Linked DNA regions of Homo sapiens: region 2 is linked to region 1. The links are contacts of gene promoters, found by promoter capture Hi-C in blood cells and fetal thymus (Javierre and others, 2016). All regions are on one chromosome and are shown on one strand. Each heading gives the region's core, a stretch centred on a gene start or on the middle of the fragment in contact. The rest is flanking DNA. Distances are from core to core; before and after follow the strand shown. Region 1 holds the start of FDXR (ferredoxin reductase). Region 2 overlaps SAP30BP (SAP30 binding protein).

Region 1 (6,964 bases), core at 3,063-5,562:
AAAAGAATAAATAACTTTGAATGTGACCTTGGCTAGTTCAAACAGTTTGTTCTGTGATGTTTAGAAGTGAACCTGGGGATCATCTACTGGGAGAGAGAAGAATTTGTAGGAGGGGGCTGGGGCTGGAGGGGGTACTGGGAACAGGGTCCGGAGGACGGATGACCTCAGAGAGGAATGGGAGGAGGGTGGGGTGCAGATAGAAGAGCCTGAAGTCAGGGCTGGGCAGGGCTGTGGAAGGATGGTCTGCAGCCTGGGAGTGAGGTGGGAATATAAGGGAACTACCAATGCCAGGCAGAGGAAGAGACCAAGGTGCTGGGGGACACCACTGAGATTCAGCCCACAGTGGGTAGTATTGAGAGAGGGCTGGGAGCTGCCCCAGCTGGGGGCTGGACTGGGAGGGTGCTAGGAAGTGCCCAGGTGGAGGCTGAGGGAGAGACAGAGAAGGAGGCCAGACCCATTAGTTGAAAACAGGGTCTCTCACCTTGGCACTATTGACTTTTTTTTTTATGGAGATGGAGTCTCGCTCTGTCGCCCAGGCTGGAGTGCAGTGGCATGATCTCAGCTCACTGCAACTTCTGCCTCCCAGGTTCAAGCGATTCTCCTGCTTCAGCCTCCCGAGTAGCTGGGACTACAGGAGCCTGCCACCATGCCTGGCTAATTTTTTGTATTTTAGTAGAGACGGAGTTTCACCATGTTGCCCAAGCTGGTCTCGAACTCCTGAGCCCAGGCAATCCACCCACCTTGGCCTCCCAAAGTGCTAGGATTACAGGTGTGAGCCACCATGCCCAGTCACTACTGACATTTTATCTGGCCAATTCTGTGTTGTTGGGGGCTGTCCTGTGCATTGTTGGATGTTTAGCAGCGTCACTGGCTTCTACCTACTAGATGCTGGGAGCTCAAGTTGTGACAATCAAAAATGTCTCCAGACATTGCTGAGTTGACCCAGTTGAGAACATGCAAGTCATTCTCTGAGCGTGTAATTGCCTTGTTTTTCAGTGAAGGCCTTGGATAGAGTGAAAGGCCTCCTGACCCTGCTGATAGGGAGACAAACTGCCGGCAAATGGGAGCCTGGGGGATGGGCAGAGGGGTCTGGCTACAGGCACAGGCATTCCCTGAGCCTTGTTCCGTTGGAGAGCCCCTCTGTGGTGTGGCCTTAGGCAGCTGCACAGAGGCCACTGGTTCTTTTATGTGCACTCTCCATTCATCTCCACCACACCTTCCTTTACCAAAGACCGCAGTTCCTTTAGACACCCTTTTCCATAGCTACAGACTCTCACTAGTTCTGAAACAGCTCCCTCCAGGCTTGCGGTGGTAGTGGTTTCCAGCTGTTGCTAGCCTGGGGTGCTTCTCCATTCCCTTCACCCTGCTCACACCTCTGTATACAAACTCCTTCATTAAACTGTCCTCAATCACGCCTTTTGAGTGTGCCATCTGTTTCTTGCTAGAAGGTTGACTGATAGAGTGGAGTTTTGGATCCAGGCAGCCCTCTTGGCACGAGGCAGGCTTGGCGGCTCCCCAGCCCACTGCTTTGCTATATGTTATTGCTGCTCCTTGGAAATGCATTAGCAGCTTAGAAATGGCCTTGAGATCTAGGGGTGTAATTAATCAAACTGCTAATTCTCCATTTGAGAAACGCAGTGGCAGAAAAGGCCCCAGTTGCACAGTCCTGGCTCATGATTAAAACCATCCAAATACATAACCAATGACTCATTGTTATTGATCTGGACCTGACTGGGGTATGGGCAGCAGCTGAAGGCACTGGTGCCAGATCTGGCTGTACCATGGGTATCATGGGAACAAGTCACTCGATTGCTTTGAGGCTCCATTTTCTGTTTCACTTAGGATGTGGGCTGGGAATTTCTGAGGCCTGAGAGGTGAGGGAGGTGACAGGAGTGAATGAAGTATATCCAGATCTCTGCAGAGACTTAAGGTCTAATCTACAGAGACATATGGGAGGTCATAATACATATGGATGATGATAATAATAGCTAATGTTTATCTAGCATTTATGGAAGTTGTCTTGACCTCATCATCTGATTTTAATGTCTACAACAAATTGCCACTATTCATATTTCCCCCAAATGTTACAGACAGTGAAAAAAAGTCCTGGAGAGATTAAATTTCTCAATGTCATATAGCTAGTAAGTGGAGGAAGAGGGATTCAGACCCAATGTTGTCTGACTCTAGAATCCATCCTCCACCACCAGATATACTGCCTCTAGATGGGGAGCCCTACAGAACTTTTTCGATTGTACGAACTTCCATTATGTGCTAGCCAGTGTGTGAAGCCCTGGGGGTATAAGAGCTGAGACTGGGTCCCCATCCTCATGGAGCTTATAATGTAGTGCAGGGGTGGTCAAACTCTGTAAAGGACCAGATAGTAAATATCTGGGGCTTTGCGAACCATATGATCTCTGTTACAACTACTCAATTGTGCCATCAAAGCACAAATATAGCCATAGACAATATGTAAAGAAGTAAGCATGGATGTCTTCCAATAAAGTTTTATTCAAACTGAAGTCTGAATTTCATGTAATTTTTACGTGTCACAAAATGTTGTTTTTTACCATTAAAAATATAAAAACAAGCTGGGTGTGGTGGCTCACTCCTGTAATCCTGGCACTTTGGAAGGCCGAGGTGGGAGGATCGCTTTGAGTTCAGGAGTTCGAGACCAGCCTGGGTGACATGGCAAAACCCCATCTCCACAAAAAATGCAAAAATGAACCAGGCGTGGTGGCAGGCACCTGTGGTCCCAGCTACTCCGGAGGCTGAGGCCTGAGGCTCGCTTGAGCCAAGCCAGGAAGCAGAGGTTGCAGTGAGCACCACTGCACTCCAGCCTGGGTGACAGAGCAGGACCCTGTCTCAAAAAACAAAATCAAAACCAAAAACAAAAACCCCAAAACCTCCAAAAAAACAAAAACAGTAAAAGCCATTCTTGTTGGTCATCCAAAACATGCTGGTGGACAGTATTTGGCCTGCAAGCTATAGTTTGCCTACTCCTGGTCTAGTGGGACAGGCATAAAACACAGTGACCTATTAGAAAGCAGACAGCATTTACTTACCAGTGGGAGGGAGGGGAAGTGACCAGTAAGGGCACAGAGGACTCCTGGGATACTGGCCATGTTTTATTTCTTGATCTGGGTGGTGGTTATATGGTTACACCTTGTGATATATTGTCAAGTTGTACACTCATGATTTGTGCACTTTTCTGTATGTTATTATTGAATTTAAAATCTCATTAAAAACGACAACCAGTGTAGTAAGTCATGATGGGATAAGGTCAGATGCTGTGGAATGAGAGGCCTTTAACTCCTTGGAACTTGGGAGGGGACGGGTCAGAGAAAAGGCTTCTCCAAGGAAGTAATATTTGACAAGAGGGCCCATGGGGAAAAGGAAGAGGGGTTAGGCTTATTGGGTCAGCTGTGACTACGGATCCTGTCCTTATTTTTAAAAACATTTTGATCATAGACTTTTTGCATTACTTTTGACCTTTTAAAACGTTGCAGTATTATATTTATCTTGATTACTGAGTGTTTTGGAGCCCCCTTAAATTCTGAACCCGAGGGGAGTACCTCAACTCTGGTCCCGGCTCGGCTGCACGGGGGTCGGACGCTCTGTCCTTAGTACCATACGTAAGCCACTGCCCCGCCCCGCTTTTCTTCACCTATGTAATGGGAAAGGAGGTGAGGTGGGACGAGCTTTCCAGGGTTTAATATTCTCCCTGGCCCGGCAAAGACGGGGATTTGAGGGGTTACATCGGCACAACACCCGGGGTCGAAGAAGGAGGCTGCTGGGCTCCGGGAAGGAGCTCCCTCGCCCCAGACTTCCGCACTCTGGTTATTTCCCAACGGCGGGAAGGCTCGCTTGGAGCCGGACTCGTGATTGGCTAGGACGAAGTCACGTGGGAGGATTCGCAATCAAATGGCAAGGGCGTCTGCGTCATCAGTGAGCGACGAGAGCCTCCCGAGAGGGGCGCGGCTAAGTAAAATAAGCTCCTTTCTTAGTGGCTGTTTCCTTGGGGAGGGACTGAAACAGCGATGGGGATTCGCTCTCTTCCAACCCTAGGCTTCCGGGATTTGGAGGGAAGGTGAGGCCTGGGGAGAAATGTATTAAATCGCGTATACCCCGGATGCTCCGAGGGGCGGGGCTTCGACGGTGGGGCGTAGTTAAGGGCGGGTCTCTCTTTTGGGGGCGGGATTCTCTCGGGAGTCGGGGTGGAGCCGCAAGGCTCCGCTTTCCCGGAGCGCAGGGGGCGGGGTTTGGGGCGGGGCCTCGCTTGTGGGCGGGCCCGGGCAGGAGCGGGCTTGCCCTGCGGAGCAGTAGCTAGGAACAGATCCACTTGCAGGTTGCTGCTCCCAGCCATGGCTTCGCGCTGCTGGCGCTGGTGGGGCTGGTCGGCGTGGCCTCGGACCCGGCTGCCTCCCGCCGGGAGCACCCCGAGTAGGAGCAGGGCGCCTTTGGGGCTGGATGGGAGCGCGGGGAGGCCTGCGAGCGCTGAGTAGGGGTCGGAGCAGAGCTGGGGCAGGGCTGGAGAAGGGTGAGACTGAAGGGGTGTCTTCCTGCTGGCGAGATCCCGGTGGTGTACGGGGGTGGGCGGAGATCTGTGCGTGAGATGTGAGGCTTCTAGGGTTAGAGACGGAGGTCAACAAAGGTGAAAAGGAGAGACTTTGAGATCTACAGGTGTGAGACGGGGTGAATGGAGGATGATACGGAGGTCTGTGGGGCGAGAGGAAAGTCTGAGTCGAAACAGGGATCTGTAGGAATAAGACGGGTCTATATGGGCAATATAGCGTTTTGTGGAGAGAGAGAGGGGTTAGAGGAGGGACACCGTGGGGAGACCCACGGGGGCGAGATTGGGATGATATGGAGGCCGTTGGAAGGATGTGGGATTCTAGCCGATTGGATAGGGAATGAAGTGTTGTTGGGCAGGCCATTGGCAGTGGTGTAGTAGGTTCATGGGTGAGATGTGGGCTCTGGATGAACCCACAGCCTTTGGGGGTTCAGATGAAGTAAGAGACCCTGCAAATGCCAAAGCCTTGAGGAACAAGAGAAGGAGGATGCAGGTGAGGGTGAAGCTTGGGAAGTTCCAGCTTCTGTTGGATATTCAGGTTGGTTTGGGACTGGGGAGAGAAGTTAATTTTGACCTTTTCCCTCTCCTCTGCCTGGCCCCAGGCTTCTGCCACCATTTCTCCACACAGGAGAAGACCCCCCAGATCTGTGTGGTGGGCAGTGGCCCAGCTGGCTTCTACACGGCCCAACACCTGCTAAAGGTAAGCCACTTACTCATAGTCCATCATTCACCTGCTGCTCCAGTCCTAAGGGCAAGCCTCACCCGCTTTGGGTTTTAAGAGCACTCCTGGTTGCCTTATGGGGAAGGGGCTCCCAGCCATCTGGCCTGGACACTTCCCACTTGCTTCCTCACCTACACCTGAGGCTCCCCTCCCCTCCCGTCCTCAGTGTGACAGGGGTGTAAAACGCACATTGGTGGTGAGTGGTCAGTGGCAGGTGGTCAGCTTTGCCTCCCTGGCCAAGCACTCCAGGGGGCTTATGTAGACCTGCAAAATGACTTTGTCCTCCTTCATCTTCCCTCCTCTCTCGTCTATCTTCACTCTATCCCAAACATCCTACATCTCGAGGCTACCCACCTCCTCCGCTTTCTGTAACTTTACCTGCCTTGCCATGCCCTCCTCACCCATAGCTCCAGTCCTCCGTGCCATTCTGTTCTTTCAGCCTGCCCTCTGCCCCTCCCCCTTCCCCTGTGAAGGCCAGGATCTCAAGGCTTTCAGTGTCTGCCTCGGCAGGAAGGGCCCCAAGCCAAGGCTACAGGTTCTACTTGAGACTCCACATCAGACTTTGGGACAGAGTAGAGAGGGGATACCCAGGTTAACTGAGACGTGAGACAGTTGCCTAGCTTTGGAGAGGCTTGGAGTGTCCGTGGAGAGACAAGAGAAAGGATGAATATCTTAATTATACACACACACACAGATGCTTGAAATGTAGGGTGACCAACTGGCCTGGACTGCCCAGGACAAGGGGCTTCAGCGCTAAGCTGGAAGTTCTTGGGAAACTGGGATGAGTTGATCACTCTGCTGAAAAGTGACCCGTGCATGCTTCCCAGGCAACACGGGTGAAAGAGCTAATTACAATAATGTGGGCAGCGTGAGCCGAGGCAGGTGGGGTCAATCAGAAACTGTTTCCTGGGCCGGAAGCCCAGGTGGCTCATGTCTGTAATCCCAGCACTTTGGGAGGCCAAGGCAGGTGGATCACTTGAAGTCAGGAGTTTGAGACCAGCCTGGCCAACGTGGTGAAACCCCATCTCTACTAAAAATAGAAAAATCAGCCACGTGTGGTGGCACAGGTCTGTAGTCCCAGGTACTTGGGAGGCTGAGTCGGGAGGATCGCTTGAACCCAGGAGGTGGAGGTAGCACTGAGCCAAGATCAAATCACTGTACTCCAGCCTGGGCGACAGAGTGAGACCCTGTCTCAAAAAAAAAAAAAAAAAAAAAAAGAGAGACAGTGCATTTGAGCTGCCTTGAAGCAGACCAAGGGCTTTGGTGAGGGCCTCCCACATGTGGGGAGTCATCCTGGAATGCAAGGCCTTGGGCACGCTGCCATGTGGGAGGGAGGACAGCCTGGGCTCTGGGATGGAGATCAGGGAGCACATGGGGGCTGGAGAGGCCCTGAAGGGCTTTGTATAAGGGACAGTTTTTTTTTAGCTGATCCTGACATTTTGGAAGGGAGGAGAGTAAGCTTTCCAGGCAGTGTTCTTTTTTTTTTTTTTTTTTTTTTGAGATGGAGTCTGGCTCTGTCGCCCAGGCTGGAGTGCAGTGGCACAGTCTCAGCTCACTTCAACCTCCATCTCCCAAGTTCAAGCGATTCTCCTGCCTCAGCCTCCTGAGTAACTGGGATTACAGGCGCACTCCACCACATGCAGCTAATTTTTGTATTTTTGGTTGAGACAGGG
Region 2 (6,808 bases), core at 1,587-4,086, 800 kb before region 1:
AGCTCACTGCAACCTCTACCTCCCAGGCTCAAGTGATTCTCCCACCTCAGCCTCTCGAGTAGCTGGGACTAGAGGCATGCGCCGCCACACCCGGCTAATTTTTGTATTTTTTTTATAGAAATGGGGTTTTATCACGTTGTCCAGGTTGGTCTCAAACTCCTGGGCTCAACCAATCTGCCCACCTCGGCCTCCCAAAGTGCTGGGATTACAGGCACAAGTCACTGTGGCCGGATCAGGTTTGTTATTTTAAAATAAGTAATTTAAAATTTTCTCAGTTTTAACTTATAAAATAGTAAACATCAATAGATAAAACCAAAATGAAAACTCTGAGATCCTCAATTTTTAATTGTGTAAAGAAACCTAAATGTTTTGAGAACTACTGAAAAAAATTAAAAGATCTTAAAAAACCATAGTAGAGGCCGGGCGAGGTGGCTCACACCTGTAATCCCAGCACTTTGGGAGGCTGAGGTGGGCAGATAACGAGGTCAGGAGATCAAGACCATCCTGGCCAACATGGTGAAACCCCGTCTCTACTAAAAATACAAAAATTAGCTGGGCGACATGGCATGTGCCTGTAATCCCAGCTACTCGGGAGGCTGAGGCAGGAGAATGGCTTGAATGCGGGAGGCAGAGGTTGCAGTGAGCTGAGATTGCGCCATTGCACTCCAGCTTGGGCAACAAGAGCGAAACTCCTACTCAAAAACAAAACAAAACAAAAAAACAACAAAAAACCAAAGTAGAAAGGAGAATGCCACCTAGTGGAGATGACAATTATGACAGTAATCTAATTGTTAAACAACACTTCTAACAAAGATCCACACTTGTAACATATTCTATTGTTAGAAACTTCCTATGTTCATGTGCACTGGGCCTGGTGGCTCACAGCTCTAATCCCAGCCCTTTGGGAAGCCAATGTGGGCAGATTACTTGAGCCCAGGAGTTCAAGACCAGCCGGGGCAATATGGCAAAACCTTTCCTCTACAAAAAAATTAAAAAAAATTGCTAGGTGTGATGCACACACCTGTAGTCCCAGCTGTTTGGGAGGCTGAGGTGGGAGGATTAATTGAGCCAGGGAGGTTGTGGCTGCAGTAAGTTATGATGGCACCACTGCACTCCAGGCGACAGAGGAGACTCCACCTCAAAAAAAAAAAAAAAAAAAAAAAAAAAACAAAAAACAAACAAAAAAACTTCATATGCTTAAAGCAGAATGTCCAAAATTAAGGGTTTTGAATATAAAAAATATTGTTACACATCAATTTAAAAAAATGTGGGCTGGGCACAGTGGCTTATGCCTGTAATCCCAGCACTTTGGGAGGCAGAGGCGGGCCTATCACTTGAGGCCATGAGTTCAAGACCAGCCTGGCCAACATGGTGAAACCCTGTCTCTATTAAAAATACAAAAAATTAGCTGGGCATGGTGGCTCACACCTGTAATCCCAGCTACTCGGGAAACTGAGACAGGAGAATCGCTTGAACCCAGGAGGCGGAGGTTGCACTGAGCCGAGATCACAGCACTGCACTCCAGCCTGAGCGACAGAGCAAGACTCTGTCTCAAAAAAATAAATAAAATAAATAAATAAAAATAAAATGTAAATGTGCCAGAAAGTTCTGGATTTGAGGTACATGTTGCTATGTGGAAGAGAGTCTGAGGCCAGCTCAAGCAGAAGGATGACAGGGCCAGGACTAAGATAAGAGTATCACAGAAGACTCATGCTGGGGATCATTTGTAGTCCTTGGAGATGCCACGAGGACTCCTAAAGGCCTGGCAGCCACTGGGGATTGCAGAACATTGAAGCTGGCAAGCTTTATCTAAACCCTTCTCCATCACCCTCCAAAAGAACTATATCAAGTGACTTTGAGGGTTGGATTTTGTGTTCTGATTTCTGAGGGCTCCTCAAGAGGAACAGAAATTATTCCATGAAAACTTTTCATTCCACAGTAAAACTTGAAATGCACATGAGTGAATGAGGAACAGCGAAGCACATCAGTCAAGGAGCAGGCAGGAATGACGAGGCTGTCAGCCGTGATGTAGGGCTGAGAAGGGGAGCCTGAGCACAAAAGGCATTTCCACAATCTTCCCAGCTTCACCTTTTTTGGGTCCCTCCCACCCCGCTCTTTAGTGACTGCTACTGGACAGCAGTAAAGTCTGTTTTGTTTTTCATGTGACCCCCACCCTGACTCACAAAGCCCTGTCATCTCCCAAGGATTTGTTGCCTGGATTACAGTATTTTAGAAGGGGTGACCGTTAAGTGTTATGTACCCTCCTCTCCAGCCAACTTCCCCAGGAAGCCTTCCAGCCCTAAGAAAAGGCTGCAACTGTACCCAGAAAGACTCTAGGACCCAGATCCTCCCTTCCCTCCACAACTGAAACCCAAACACTTAACGGCTCCCTGGGCTTGTTTTACGTGCAGGCTCCAAGTCCCACATACCCTAAATACTAGGCAGAGAAGATTATCACTACTGAGTGTTTTGTTCTGCAAGCCCGAGGAGAGCTGTGACTGACTTTGAACTATGGGGCCATGGGTCTGCCCATACCATCTTGCCAGTTCTCAGGCAGGGCGAGTTCTCAGGCCTGGGTTCCAGGTTTTTCACTCAGCATAGAAAGCAGGTTGCATTTACAGTTTTCAGGGGTTCTTTTTTTTCCCTCCTGCATGCTGGCGCCAAAACTTTCTTTCCTGGTAAAACACACTCTTATCTTTCTCACTCACAACGTCTCAAGATTTTAGTGGCTACATACAGTTCTATCCAATCACAGAATCAGCTCAAATATGGAACAGCTCACACTATATTTTCAAGAATATTACTGTTTTAGATTTTAATTGGGCATAAATTTCCTAAATTTTACTAGGTCATCTTGAAAGTTACAGCTGGTTTCCAAGCAGTTTTTTTTTGTTTTTTTTTTTGAGACAGATTCTCATTCTGTTGCCCAGGTTGGAGTGCATTGGCAGATCATGGCTCACTGCAACCTCTGCCTCCCAGGTTCAAGTAATTCCCCTGCCTCAGCTTCCCCAGTAGCTGGGATCACAGGTGTGCACCACCCACCAGTCTCACCAGTTAATTTTTGTATTTTTAGTAGAGACGGGGTTTCACCATACTGGCCAGGCTGGTCTTGAACTCCTGACCTCAAGTGATCCTCCCGCCTCAGCCTCCCAAAGTGCTGGGATTACAGGCGTGAGCTACTGCGGCTGGCCTCAAAGCAGTTTTTAACTGCAAAATGGGTCCTTATTCCCCGGGTCTAGAGTGATATAATTAAGTCTTTTTCTTTGGGGGTACAGGGGGGAAGTTTTTCCTCATAAAAAATGACTCTTCAGCAAGTACACATTTCTAATGGCCAATGCACAGCACAGCAGCTTAACCAACACAAGGGTGTCTTAACCTTCACAACAGATCATTATGGAATGTGATAGGAATTGCTACAAATTACTCTTGGCTGCTACTAGGATGACACTATGAGAATAGTTATGTTGTTCCGAAAAAGACCATTCTGTACAGCTTGCCCAAAAGTGGATGGACACACCCCCAGGAAAATGAGCATTAGACCCACCATCCCTGAGAGCTGGGGAGAGGCCTCATTTTGGTCTGACCTTCTTATAGCCTCTTGTTCACTTCTAGATGACTAAAGAGAACCCAAAGCACGCGAGGCGGCCCTTACACCTTCCTGGGTCTAGAAACAGACTAATCCACCTGCAGGGCAGTGACACTTAAAGCCCCATCTGGGATGCAGAATGCAAGTGGGTTGTTGGCCTCAGCCAGGCCTCTCGCCTTTCTAGTCAGGAGATATGGCACAATCTGAAAGGCTGGAAATCCAATGTGTCTCAGGATTTGTTCATTCCTGAGTTGTCTCCAGGTTCTTTCTTTATAAAGCTTATTTTATCCCAGAAAATGTCCACACAGTTGCACAGTTTGTCAGTGGGACAGATCTTGACCAAACATACGAACTGAGCCACAGTGTTCAAACACCTTGTTTGCATCCAGCCACCCACCACAGCCAACACCAAATACCTTTGGGTCATCAGCCTCAGGTTTTTCAGTCTCTGAATCGTCATCTTCCTACAAGACAAAGAATTTAGAGGATTAAGCTTAAAGGAGCGGGCCTGAGGAGTCTCACATGCATAACTAGGGGCCGGAGCAAACAGCCCATTTACCCAGCTGGGGTCATCCCACCAAGAATCCCTCCCCTACCATATAACTCAGAACCAGAGAAAAATAAGGGGAAAAAGAGATATTCTGGAGGGGAAAAAAACAAAAAACAAAAAAGCATCAGCAGCTCAAAGTCAAGTTACTTTAGTGGTGAGACAGTCCACATCAATGAAGATGCCCGAGTTCAAAGTCACATACATAAAAATGGAGAAAGCTTGCAATATGTTTTAGGAAAGAGTAAGATCAGGCCACACAATAAAACAGGCATCGTGTTTCCACTGAAGTATCAGTTATTTCAAATCAGGATTATGAGCCTTCTTTCCTTTTCATATACACATGTACATCAGACTCGGACCTACTCTAACAGTGTCCAACACCAAGTGCCAAGGCTTACACACAGCTGTATCGCAGCACCTCAACCGGCATTTGCACAAACATCAACACAGGAAGGCAGGCATCAAACTACCTGAGCAAGTGACCTGGGAAAGGCAGGACTAAAGGGCAATGCCCAACCTTTCAGGAGTCCCAGTTGAGTGGGCTCTGCCTCCACCTAAGTGCTCACAGAACTGCCAGTGATCCATTCTACCCAGTCCTGTTCCTTATCCAGATGAGGTCAGCCTGACACAAAGGATCACACACGGTAAGGCATTCTCCAAAGCGAGCCCGCCATTCCACTGAACGCTAACGCTGATGCTATGAAGGTCAAAGATCAGGAGCAGATGCTGGACCAGCTACCTTATTAGCTGGCTAAATCCATGTCACCTCCACTACCCAGAACACTCCCAATGCACAGAAGCCTTTAACTAAATACCCAGGAAAAAATGGTTTCATTTGAAACTACTATTTTCAACAAAGCTACATTTCAGCCCAAACATTACACAGCACTCCATATATTAATATAAATACCACTCGAGAGACTTGAACAAACTAGACTCATGATTTGGAGACTTAACTGTCCTGTAAGGTACCAGTGAGTCCAAGGCTTTAAATGCAATCTCCATAATCTCCTTAAAATGAAATCAGTCATGCCAAATAAACAGAGATGGAGCTCAGACAAATACAATCACATTTCAGAATCTCTACAACAAGATCTGATGAGAGGATTTTACTAAAATATGAAATGAAGCTTAAACATGATGAAAATTCTAAGCAAAGCAAATATGAAATAACACTTCAAAAACACATTATGCAAACGTACTAAAGAAAAGAGTTATGAATATTAAGCCAGAATGTGTGTACTTCAGAAAAGTCAGAAAACAACTTGCAAAACTTTTCTGAATAATTTCAGTCAACTCTGAATTATCAATATTAATGGATGGGGCTAAAGGCATGAAAGTATCTCCCAAAATGCATCATGTACAAAACGCATTTCTGTTTGTTGTGGAAATAATTTTTTTTTTTTTTAAGATGGAGTCTGGCTCTGTTGCCCAGGCTGGAGTGCAGTGGCGTGATCTCGGCTCACTGCAACCTCCGCCTCCCGGGTTCAAGCGATTCTCCTGCCTCAGCCTCCCGAGTAGGTGGGACTACAGGTGCGTACCACCATGCCCTGCTAATTATTGTATTTTTAGTAGAGATGGGGTTTCACCATGTTGGCCAAGATGGTCTTGATCTCCTGACCTTGTGATCCGCCCACCTCAGCCTCCCAAAGTGCTGGGATTACAGGCATGAGCCACCGTGCTTGGCTGGAAAGAATTTTAATGCTAACATTTACATACCAACATGTAACAAAAATTTCAAACAAATAATATATTTTAAGTGATTTAATTAAAACTTGCTAAGCAGTCAGATTTGACATCTAGACTCAACTCTGCCTGTCTTATGCTAAGCACCAACTTCAATTTCCTTGCGTTTTCTGCAAACTTAAATTCTGGCTCATGTTGCTCAGGTGATTATGTGTCTAAAGACTTTCTTGTTAATAATAGCACAGGTTCTCCTTTCTCCAGCACCTACTGAACTTCAGGCAAGATTTGTGATCAAGAACTAAGGGCACCATTATAAAAAGTGCCAAATAAAATGTCAAGAAAGAAGTTAAGAAGGCCAGGGATGGTGGCTCATACCTGTAATCCCAGCACTTTGGGAGGGTGAGGCAGGGGAATTGCTTGAGGCCAGAAGTTTGAAACCAGACTGGGAAACATAGTGAAACAACGTCTCTACAAAAAATTTTTTTTTAAATTTTAAAAATCGGCCAGGAGCAGTGGCTCACGCCTGTAATCCCAGCACTTTGGAAGGATGAGGCGGGTGGATCACCTGAGGTCAGGAGTTAGAGACCAGAATGGCCAACATGGTGAAACCGTCTCTGTGAAAAATACAAAAATTAGCCAGGCGTGATGGCAGGTGTCTGTAATCCCAGCTACTCAGGAGGCTGAGGGCAGGAGAATTGCTTGAACCTGGGAGGTGGAGGTTGCAGTGAGCAGAGATCGCACCACTGCACTCCAGCATGGGCGACAGAGCAAGATTCCGACAAAAAAAAATAATAATAGGTTAGCTAGGCATGGTGGCGCCCACCTGTAGTCCCAGCTACTGGGTAGGCTGAGGTGGGAGGATCACTTGCGCCCAGGAGTTCAAGACTGTAGTGAACTATCTATGATCACACCACTGCACTCCAATCTGGACAGCAGAGTGAGACCCTATCTCAAAAAAAAAAAAGAAAAGAAAAAGCAGGTGAAAA

Evidence for each region. Contacts are between HindIII fragments. The CHiCAGO score rates a contact against its expected background, and 5 or more counts as called.
Region 2: a contact is called between a fragment that was not itself captured here and the fragment with the promoter of FDXR in region 1, in 1 of 17 cell types (neutrophils). The highest score is 5.3, in neutrophils.

The regions. Positions count from the first base shown.
Region 1 is chr17:74,870,342-74,877,305 of GRCh38, reverse strand. FDXR (ferredoxin reductase) reads left to right here and starts at 4,312. Exons shown (of 12, transcript NM_024417.5): 1 at 4,312-4,440; 2 at 5,173-5,270. The coding sequence starts at 4,362. FADS6 (fatty acid desaturase 6) reads left to right here. Exons shown (of 6, transcript NM_178128.6): 6 at 1-4. RefSeq lists enhancers at 852-1,146, 2,262-3,162, 3,783-4,012, 3,968-4,262, 4,060-4,960, a cis regulatory region at 1,826-1,897 and silencers at 4,173-4,402, 4,443-4,572. The HindIII fragment of the contact is 12,318 bases long and covers 1-5,077 here.
Region 2 is chr17:75,669,058-75,675,865 of GRCh38, reverse strand. It overlaps SAP30BP (SAP30 binding protein), which reads right to left. Exons shown (of 11, transcript NM_013260.8): 3 at 4,003-4,050. Among named protein-coding and RNA genes, the nearest start is that of SAP30BP, 5.1 kb to the right of the region's middle. The HindIII fragment of the contact is 2,061 bases long and covers 1,806-3,866 here.